2 separate regions of the Homo sapiens genome follow, and region 1 is linked to region 2. Evidence: promoter capture Hi-C in 16 types of primary human blood cells and fetal thymus (Javierre and others, 2016). All regions are on one chromosome and are shown on one strand. Each heading gives the region's core, a stretch centred on a gene start or on the middle of the fragment in contact. The rest is flanking DNA. Distances are from core to core; before and after follow the strand shown.

Region 1 (3,499 bases), core at 166-2,665, 4.3 Mb before region 2:
GCACATACTATAGCAAGTGAGCTCAGACAAGAATTTTTTTTTAATTACATGGTTTATTTATTTATTTTTTTAAACTTTTAATTCGGGGTACATGTGCAGGTTTGTTATATAGATGAACTCATATCACAGGGGTTTGTTGTACAGACTATTTCATCACCCAGGTACTAAGCCTAGTGCCCAATAGTTATTTTTTCTGATCCTCCTCTTCCTCCCACCCTCCACCCCCCAGGAAGGTCCCAGGAGACAAGAATTTTTAAAAATTTTTTCTCAGAAGAAATGCCCCATCTTCTATGCTGAAATAATTTCATCTGTTAACTTGCACCAACTTGTTTCCCTAACTTGTATCACACAGTTCAATTCAGATTTTTATTCCTAAAGCTCCAAAAAGCTAGATTTACTTTTATTTTCTTTTTAAAATATCTAGAAACCCTTTTCCCATTGTTAAATGAATTTTTACATCTACATTTGATTTCTAAATAAAATTTGTAATACTAGTTATCAACAAATAACCATAGAGCTCTGACATCGAGATAAAAGGCAACTCATGTTATATGAATGATATCAGCAACCCCTACTGGCAGAAACTCAGAATAGTACTGATAGACATTATATTTAATTCAAACCATTTTATCGTTTTATCCATGTTTAGGTCTAATCATTTAAAGTCTCCCATCCCACTCCCACCCCCACCCCTCTAAAAAAAAAGTATGTGGTCAATACTTAATTAAAGATAAGAATTTATTTTCTGTGTGACTAAGACTGTGTAGTCATGTTCAGCTTAACTGGATATAATTGAAAAATGTTACACTGTGTGCGATAAAGGAAGGTATTTGCTAGTTAAGAAATCACCCATCCACCATGTTGTAATACTGCCTAACTGGAAATGCTTACTTGTGTTTCACGATGCAGATAATCATACTGATATGATGGAAGTGGATGGGGATGTTGAAATCCCTCCTAATAAAGCTGTTGTGTTGCGGGGCCATGAATCTGAAGTTTTTATCTGTGCCTGGAACCCTGTTAGTGATCTCCTAGCATCAGGGTATGTTTCTCAAAGTGATACTAAAATGACTTAAAAATATCTTATTGAACATTTTATAAACATATGCATTATTCAGGTTTTCTGTTGTTGCTTAGTTGTGGCCATTTTGTCTCTGTAAATTTTTTATTCCTTCATGAAGTAATTGTAGAATTTTTAATTAAACTTACTATTTCGAGAATGCTTGGGGGTCCCAACGTGTAGAATGGGAAAAATACTGGAAATGAAAATTCGTGATAGTCGTTTTTATTTGCCTTATTAATATTCAGATGTAAATATGTTGCCTTGTTCTGATACGTGAGAATGTCATGAGGATCTAAAATATATTGCATACTTTTATAGGTCTGGAGACTCAACAGCAAGAATATGGAATCTTAGTGAGAACAGCACCAGTGGCTCTACACAGTTAGTACTTAGACATTGTATACGAGAAGGAGGGCAAGATGTTCCAAGCAACAAGGATGTCACATCTCTAGATTGGAATGTGAGTATCACTATATCCATGATGGATATAATTACTAGTATACCTAACCCTCAGAGCCTCATACTCACGGCAGGGTTTGTCTATTTGTTCAGAATTTGGGGTTTTATTAACTAGTAACAACAAACCGGGAGTCGTCCCCTGCCAGCCCTCTCCCCCACTGTGGGACACAGACTTGCCTTAGTCAGACCAAGGTTCAACATCCAGCTCTTCAGTGTATCCCACAGCATATCCTTGGTTAAATTGTTACTTTTTACTCTGTACTTCATTTTCTTTAAATGTCAAGTAGAAGTGTGAAAATGGTACCTAAATATTTGAGATAATAGGTGAAAATTCTTACCATAATAACAAACAACATACTAAATCTATAACAACCGAGTCCTTAGGGGATAAAAGAATTCTGTGTAGCAAAAAACATGTTCTTGTTTTTCTCTGTATTCTGTGAACTGGTAGAACTTTATTACCAATTTCCTTTTAGGGATCATTAGTCTAGACAACGTCTGAATTTTATTCCCACTGTAGGAATCTTGTAATTCTCTGATTCTGTGTATGATTCAACATCTTTCAGGACAACTTGACTACTGTGACTTACAAAAAACTTTGACTTCGTTGTTGATAAATTCTCACCATTATAGTTTTAAATACATCTCTTACCTCGCTCCGCTACCCCCTGCCCCTCCCCCAAAACTCTTAGATTATTTCAGCATTGCAAAGAATATCAAGATAGTTGTTCTTTGCTCAGCAAATGAATGTTCTTTTCTCTTCTGTTTAACAACCCTTTGTGGACTTTCTAAAGGATCTTCCAATTCTTTTCCCCGGGAATGAGATCTATCTTTAAAATGATTATCCCCACTAAAGTTCTCAGTTTCTGTGAAATGTTTTTTCAGAAATCATAGCTAGGTATTTTTAGCATTTTCTTCCAAAATTGCCAGCAGCATATTTACTCTTCCCCTCCATATGACAATTCTAAAAATTCCAAAGGGGTTTAGCACATTGTAGTATTATTTACTTGTAAGATCAAGACAGAATTATTTTCTTAATATGGGCCCTTATTATATTTTAGTTCAGATATCTTACAGCTTTCTTACGCTACCTGGTCCACTGGCCATGTTAATGAAATTTATAGTTTACACTGAAAAGGATGGTTAATGAATATTGGTTTGTTGAGCTTGGTAGTTCTGAACTGCATTTTATAGTTTTGAAAAGTGTGGGCTTTTAAAAAATGTGTTATTCACGGTGAACTTGGAAAACATTATCCTCGATTAATGATTCTTTTCCATGGCTAAAGCAAGAGAGCCTGTGAGATTTCTCATCTTTACAGTATTTTCCTAGTTGAGCAGTTCATGAACTAAAACATTTAGGGACTGATAGTTTAGAGGAAACTTGACATTGTGTAGGATGTGGAAATAAGCTTTTACTGTTGACTTCAACATGGCTCCCCTTCTTCTTGAGACAGAGCCCTAAGGGATGGCCACATCCCAGCAGAATTGAGTCTGCAGTTCCCAGAACCAGCATTTGTTTTTGTTTGTCACTTAGCCATACTGCTAAATGGCTTGAGAGATGTGAAATAGGTGATCTTGTTTTGAATGCCCTTACCAAAAACCATCAATAATATGTCAAGTAATGCAGGATTTCATTCTCCAGTAATGTTTACTGATTCTAGCAATAGTCTGTTTACTATAATCTGTAACTTCTGTGTTTGCATAGAGTAGGTTAGATCTGTCCTTTTATTACACAATTCATCGAGGCAAGGTGCACAGCAAGGGAATATAAGTTGAGAGAAATTTATATGGACTTTTCCTCCTGGTAAAGTAGGCAGTTGTACTTACTTCATTAACTATAAAGTCAGCCTGTGCTCTTTTCTGGCTCTTTTCCTTGTTGATCTTTTTATTGGCAAATATTTCATAGTGGGAAGGGATTAATAATAGAAAGGAACATTCAAGTATTTAAGAATCTGATCATTCGAAACAATGATATTG
Region 2 (5,043 bases), core at 632-3,131:
AATTCTATCCAGCCCTATTATTTTAAGTCTTCTACACTCAACCATTTCCAATGAAAAGGCATTAAAGTGGCTTTCATTCAAAGTCCCCTTAAAAGAATGTTTAAAAAAAAAAAAAAGTCAGGAGATGAGCTAACCTGCTTTAAGGACTGGAAGAGGAAAATCAAAAATACCATTTGAAAGGCCGGACGCGGTGGCTCACACTTGTAATCCTAGCACTTTGGGAGGCCAAGGCGGGCGGATCACGAGGTCAGGAGTTCGAGACCAGCCTGGCCAACACAATGAAACCCCGTCTCTACTAAAAATACAAAAATTAGCTGGGCTTGGTGGCAGGCACCTGTAATCCCAGCTACTCAGGAGGCTGAGGCAGGAGAATCGCTTGAACCCGGGAGGCAGAGGTTGCAGTGAGCCGAGATCGTGCCACTGCACTCCAGTCTAGGTAACAAGAGGTAGACTCCGTCTAAAAAAAAAAAAAAAACTTCTTGAAAATATTTACATTTTTCTCCTATGCCTCCCTCTTTAAGAGGGAGCACAGCAAATGATCAAAAGCAGATGATTAATAAAAGGGAGGGAGCATAGCAGATGATCGAAAGCAGATGATTAATAATTAAAATTGCCCCTGATGATACTGTATATGATCAATTTATTGCCAAAACAGCTTCAAAATGTATAGAGAAAAAGAGATGCACTACGGTAACTTGATGACATAACTAACATCCAACAGTCAGATTAGAAATGGAAATATATTAATCACTTTTTTTCAAATTACTGTATTCCAGAAGCCTTTAAAATAAGCACAATAGGATCAGTGTTCATAAACCTACACAGCTTCTCACCCAAGAACAGACCCAAGGAGCTTCTAACTAAACACACTATAACACATGCCCCCTTTTATCCCAGAGATAAAATTTGCCATGTAAACAAACATTCAAGTTTCCTTTTACTTAAATACTTTTTAGGCAATCATCTTCCAAGGTGAAGGACTAAAATGCAATCCAAGATATAATGGTGGTGTTATTAACAATAACATTACTATTAACAACTGACATTTACTTAACGCTTAATACGTGGCAGACATTGTCCTAAACCTTTTAATCTCTGCAGTAATCCTAAGAGGCAGGTACTATTATTATTTTCAATGTATGGATGAAGAAACGTAGGAACAGAGAGGTTAAGCAACTTCCCCTAAGTCAAACTGTTAGTAAGGGGTAAAAGAGGTATTCAAAGCCCGGCTAAATCCAGAGGCTGCGCCTTTAACCACTAAGCCGGACACATCTGTGCCGGGTGGCTGGGGAGGACGAGGGGCGGATGGCCTGGATTTATCTTGCAAAAACGAAAAATTAAACTTCCCGCAAAGAAGCCAGGATGAATCCTAGAATAAAACCACGGCGCACTCTGAGATAAGCCCCCAAAGGCTGCAAGTGCCGGCCCCCAAAGCCACAGGGCTGCGCGGCTTGCCAAAATCCCTTTCCCAACTCCCTCCCTTCACCCACACTCTTCTGTCCAAAAGAGCCAACAGGTGAGGGCGAAGATGCCCAGCAATACTGGGGGCTTCGGTCTCCCACTCCGCGTCAGGGCCCGGCTGCTGGGGGTGGGGTGCGGCGAGGGAGTTCCCGGATCCGGGAAGCCTGAGCTGGGGCGCTCCGGAATTCGCGGTCACTAGGGGCGGGGACGTCGACCGCAGGCAAAAGAGCCCTTGGCTCTGGAGCCGCTCGCCCACTTGCACCTCTCTCACTCACACAGAGTCCTTACCACTCTCAAAAAAGCCCTAGGAGTTCCACCTCTTCAAACGCCGACTCCTCTCACAAATACCGCCATTCCTCGCCGGCGGCCGCCACAACCGATTCAAAAACTAAGCTGCTCTCTCTAAGAGCCATGCCGATTGGCGCGTGATGTCAACCTCTTTCCCATAGGCAGGAGTCTCCAGAGGGGCGGTGATTGGTCGACGCTCTCCAAGTCCCGGCAGGCGCCGCTTGATTGGTTGTGCGTGTGTTTCAAATAAGCCCAACGACTCGGGCGTCGGGACGCCAGGAGTTTGCAGAGAAGTGCCCGGATGTGGCCAGGAGGTGGCGGTGGTGGCTCCTGAGGTCTTAAAGGAGTAGCAGGTGTTTCTGTGACTACCGCATATTTACTCAGTAAACATCCTACTTCCTGAGGAAAGTTTGGGTGGATTCTCCTCGGCCCCACCCAGCTTTTTTTTTTTTTTAAACGATACCAAATCTTTTAAGCTTAAATCAGTGCCGCCAGAGATAAATGTTTCCCTGCTGCTTGCTGTGAGCTGTAGGATTTTCCTATCGGGATGCTTTCTGCTTTAGGAATGTATTTAAATTTGAGTTAAGGGATTTTGACTTTGATGGTTGTATTGGCGTGTGGCAGGGCCAAGGACCGGTCCTAGAACTCGGACTCCCCAGGTGGACTTCAAATCAGCAGCCGCTTATTTAAATGCTATTATTTAAAGCACTGCGCTCCCATCTAGGGAGTATCGCGGGTTAGAATCAATTCTTAGAAATTAGAAAAATTCTCGGATTTTTTTAAAGATAAGCTTGAATTTGATAAAAATATGCCACGAGATTCTAGAATTTTTGGAGCCAAATTGCTTCGTCTTTGCCCCCCTCCGCCCACTAAGAACTTGTACTTTCCCCTAAAGTCTAGTCAAGAATGTATCAAGTTTTTCCTGTGATTAGCGTTGCTATTATGAAAATAATTTCTTTATTTTCTAAATATGATACCATATAACACAATCTCTTAAGAAAAATACACCCCCACCAGGTGGGTTTTCCATAGTTCCCACCTGAAGGCTAATATAAATAGAAGAAGAAAGGGGAATCAGATGCCAGAACCTAAATACCAATAAGAAGAGGCAAACGTGTACTTTGGGATGGAACACTTGTGAGCATCTCAAGCAGGTTGTGGGGACTTAACAATTTTTTCTAATTTTGTCAGGCAATCTTAGAATGCCTGAAAAGTTTATAATGCTGTCCACAAAATGAATGAAGCAATCTGGTAATTATTGGTTTCCCTGCTTGTCAGTATTTAAGTCTGACCTTCATTAAAATGCTGTGATAACTGTTACGGCAGAAAAAAAGAAAAACAGTAATTGAAATTTCCATTTGGAATGTGCTTGCGTATTTGGAAGTCGGGTGTGCCCAGCATTCCAAAAACGTTCATCACTGAAAACATATTAAGCTATTGTGGGAAGCAGCCCTACTTCCTTTGTGCACCGCTTTCTGCTCAACAGACTTTCCAAAGCTAATGATTAACTGTGTATGGTATCATTGCCATGAATTTTAAGCTTCCCTAACAAAAGCTGTACTTGATTTCTTTTAAGGGATGTGTGGCAGTTAGATTAACAAATAAACGGGTAATACAACCTTTTTCACTCTCTTAGGTCTTCATTTACTCAGCAAATATTTACTAATTTTAAGACAGCCATTGTGCTTGTTGGGGTTATAAAGATGAATAAGGCATAGAAAACTGCCTGTCTGGACCACACAATCTGGTGAGGGAAATTAGCAGATAAACAGATAATTACAGTATAAGGGAGAGAAGAAAGAGAATGAACATACTGATACTTTACTATGCACTTTATACCTTATTTAATCCTTAAAACAACCCACAAGTAGGTATCATAGTCCCATGATACCATGAAACTGTAGGAAAGGTTTAAGTAACTTACCCAGTGTCTCCTAATAAATATTTTAGCCCGCATTAGAACCCAGAAATAATAGATGAGTGTAAATAAAGTCTAGTATAGATCTGTCTGCAGGCTCAAAGAAAGCAATGTGGAGAGGAGTATTTCAGATAATCGTGTGCATAGGTGATCATATGCCACTTAATTGCACCTAGCAGAGGGCTGGTGTCTGGTAAAGTAAAACATGATCCCTCATCTTCAGGTATTTTCAAAAAGCTAGTACTGCAAAGGCAAATGTTACACATTGCTCTCTAATAAACACAGGAATCTTCACATGTAGGTACCAAATAAATATTTCGAGAGTGAATGAGCTAGATCCAAGTTCATTCATAATGTTTGAGAGACTGGATGTCCTGATTAACCTAATCATAGTTTATTCATTTAATAACTATTAAGCACCCATTAGGTACTATGCTAGCACTGAGAATATAGGTGTGACAAGACAAATATGGGCCTTGTTCTCATGGCACTTCTAGCAGATAGCTGTATTTGCGGTGAAAAATTTATTGCATGCATAGGTTTTCACAGAATTCAAATACCTACAAAACAATGATACAAGTAACTTAGTCTTACTGAGTCAGAAGCTGTTTCAAGTGCTATAGTGTTTCAAGATCAGCATTATGAAAAATTTTTAAATACTATATACGGCATAGGCAATTGAACTGAATGGCATATTAACCTTGAACTTTTTTAAAAACATAAATTCTTAATATTAGCTTGTTTACGTGCACTTTAGGCTCTCATAAAAGCTCAATATATATAGGAGACAGTAAACAGTTTGGTGTGGCTGGATCATAATATACATGAAGAGGACAGTGGAAGACAACTGACATACGCTAGGTTAGGCTAGGTGTGGGGGCTCATGCCTATAATTCCAGCACTTTGGGAGACTAAGGCAGGAGGATCCCTTGAAGCCGGGAGTTCAAGACCAGCCTAGGTAGTGACTGCACTCCATCCTGGGCGATAGAGCAAGACCGCCCCTCCCCCCCACCATCCAGCCCCCATCTCAAAAAAAAATAAATGCTGGCCAGGTGCAGTGGCTCATGCCTGTAATCCCAGGCATGAGATTACATGCCTTTGGAAGGCCCAGGCGGGCGGATCACGAGGTCAGGAGATCGAGACCATCCTGGCTAACATGGTGAAATCCTGTCTCTACTAAAAATACAAAAAAATTAGCCGGGCGTGGTGGCACGCGCCTGTAGTCCCAGCTACTCGGGAGGCCGAGGCAGGAGAATGGCGTGAACCCGGGAGGCGGAGCTTGCAGTGAGCAGAGATTGCGCCACTGCACTCCAGCTTGGGCGACAGAGCGAGACTTCATCTCAAAAAATAAAAAATAAAAAGTAAAATAAATGCCA

What was found. Contacts are between HindIII fragments. The CHiCAGO score rates a contact against its expected background, and 5 or more counts as called.
Region 1: a fragment that was not itself captured here is called in contact with the fragment with the promoter of ECT2 in region 2 in 1 of 17 cell types (fetal thymus); the score reaches 5.4 in fetal thymus.

The regions. Positions count from the first base shown.
Region 1 is chr3:177,048,021-177,051,519 of GRCh38, reverse strand. It overlaps TBL1XR1 (TBL1X/Y related 1), which reads left to right. Exons shown (of 16, transcript NM_024665.7): 5 at 1-16; 6 at 910-1,042; 7 at 1,382-1,523. Among named protein-coding and RNA genes, the nearest start is that of TBL1XR1-AS1, 12 kb to the right of the region's middle. The HindIII fragment of the contact is 3,036 bases long and covers 1-2,933 here.
Region 2 is chr3:172,747,564-172,752,606 of GRCh38, reverse strand. ECT2 (epithelial cell transforming 2) reads right to left here and starts at 1,881. Exons shown (of 25, transcript NM_001258315.2): 1 at 1,750-1,881. RefSeq lists a silencer at 1,466-1,535 and enhancers at 1,646-1,905, 1,926-1,975, 2,076-2,345. The HindIII fragment of the contact is 5,304 bases long and covers 1-2,227 here.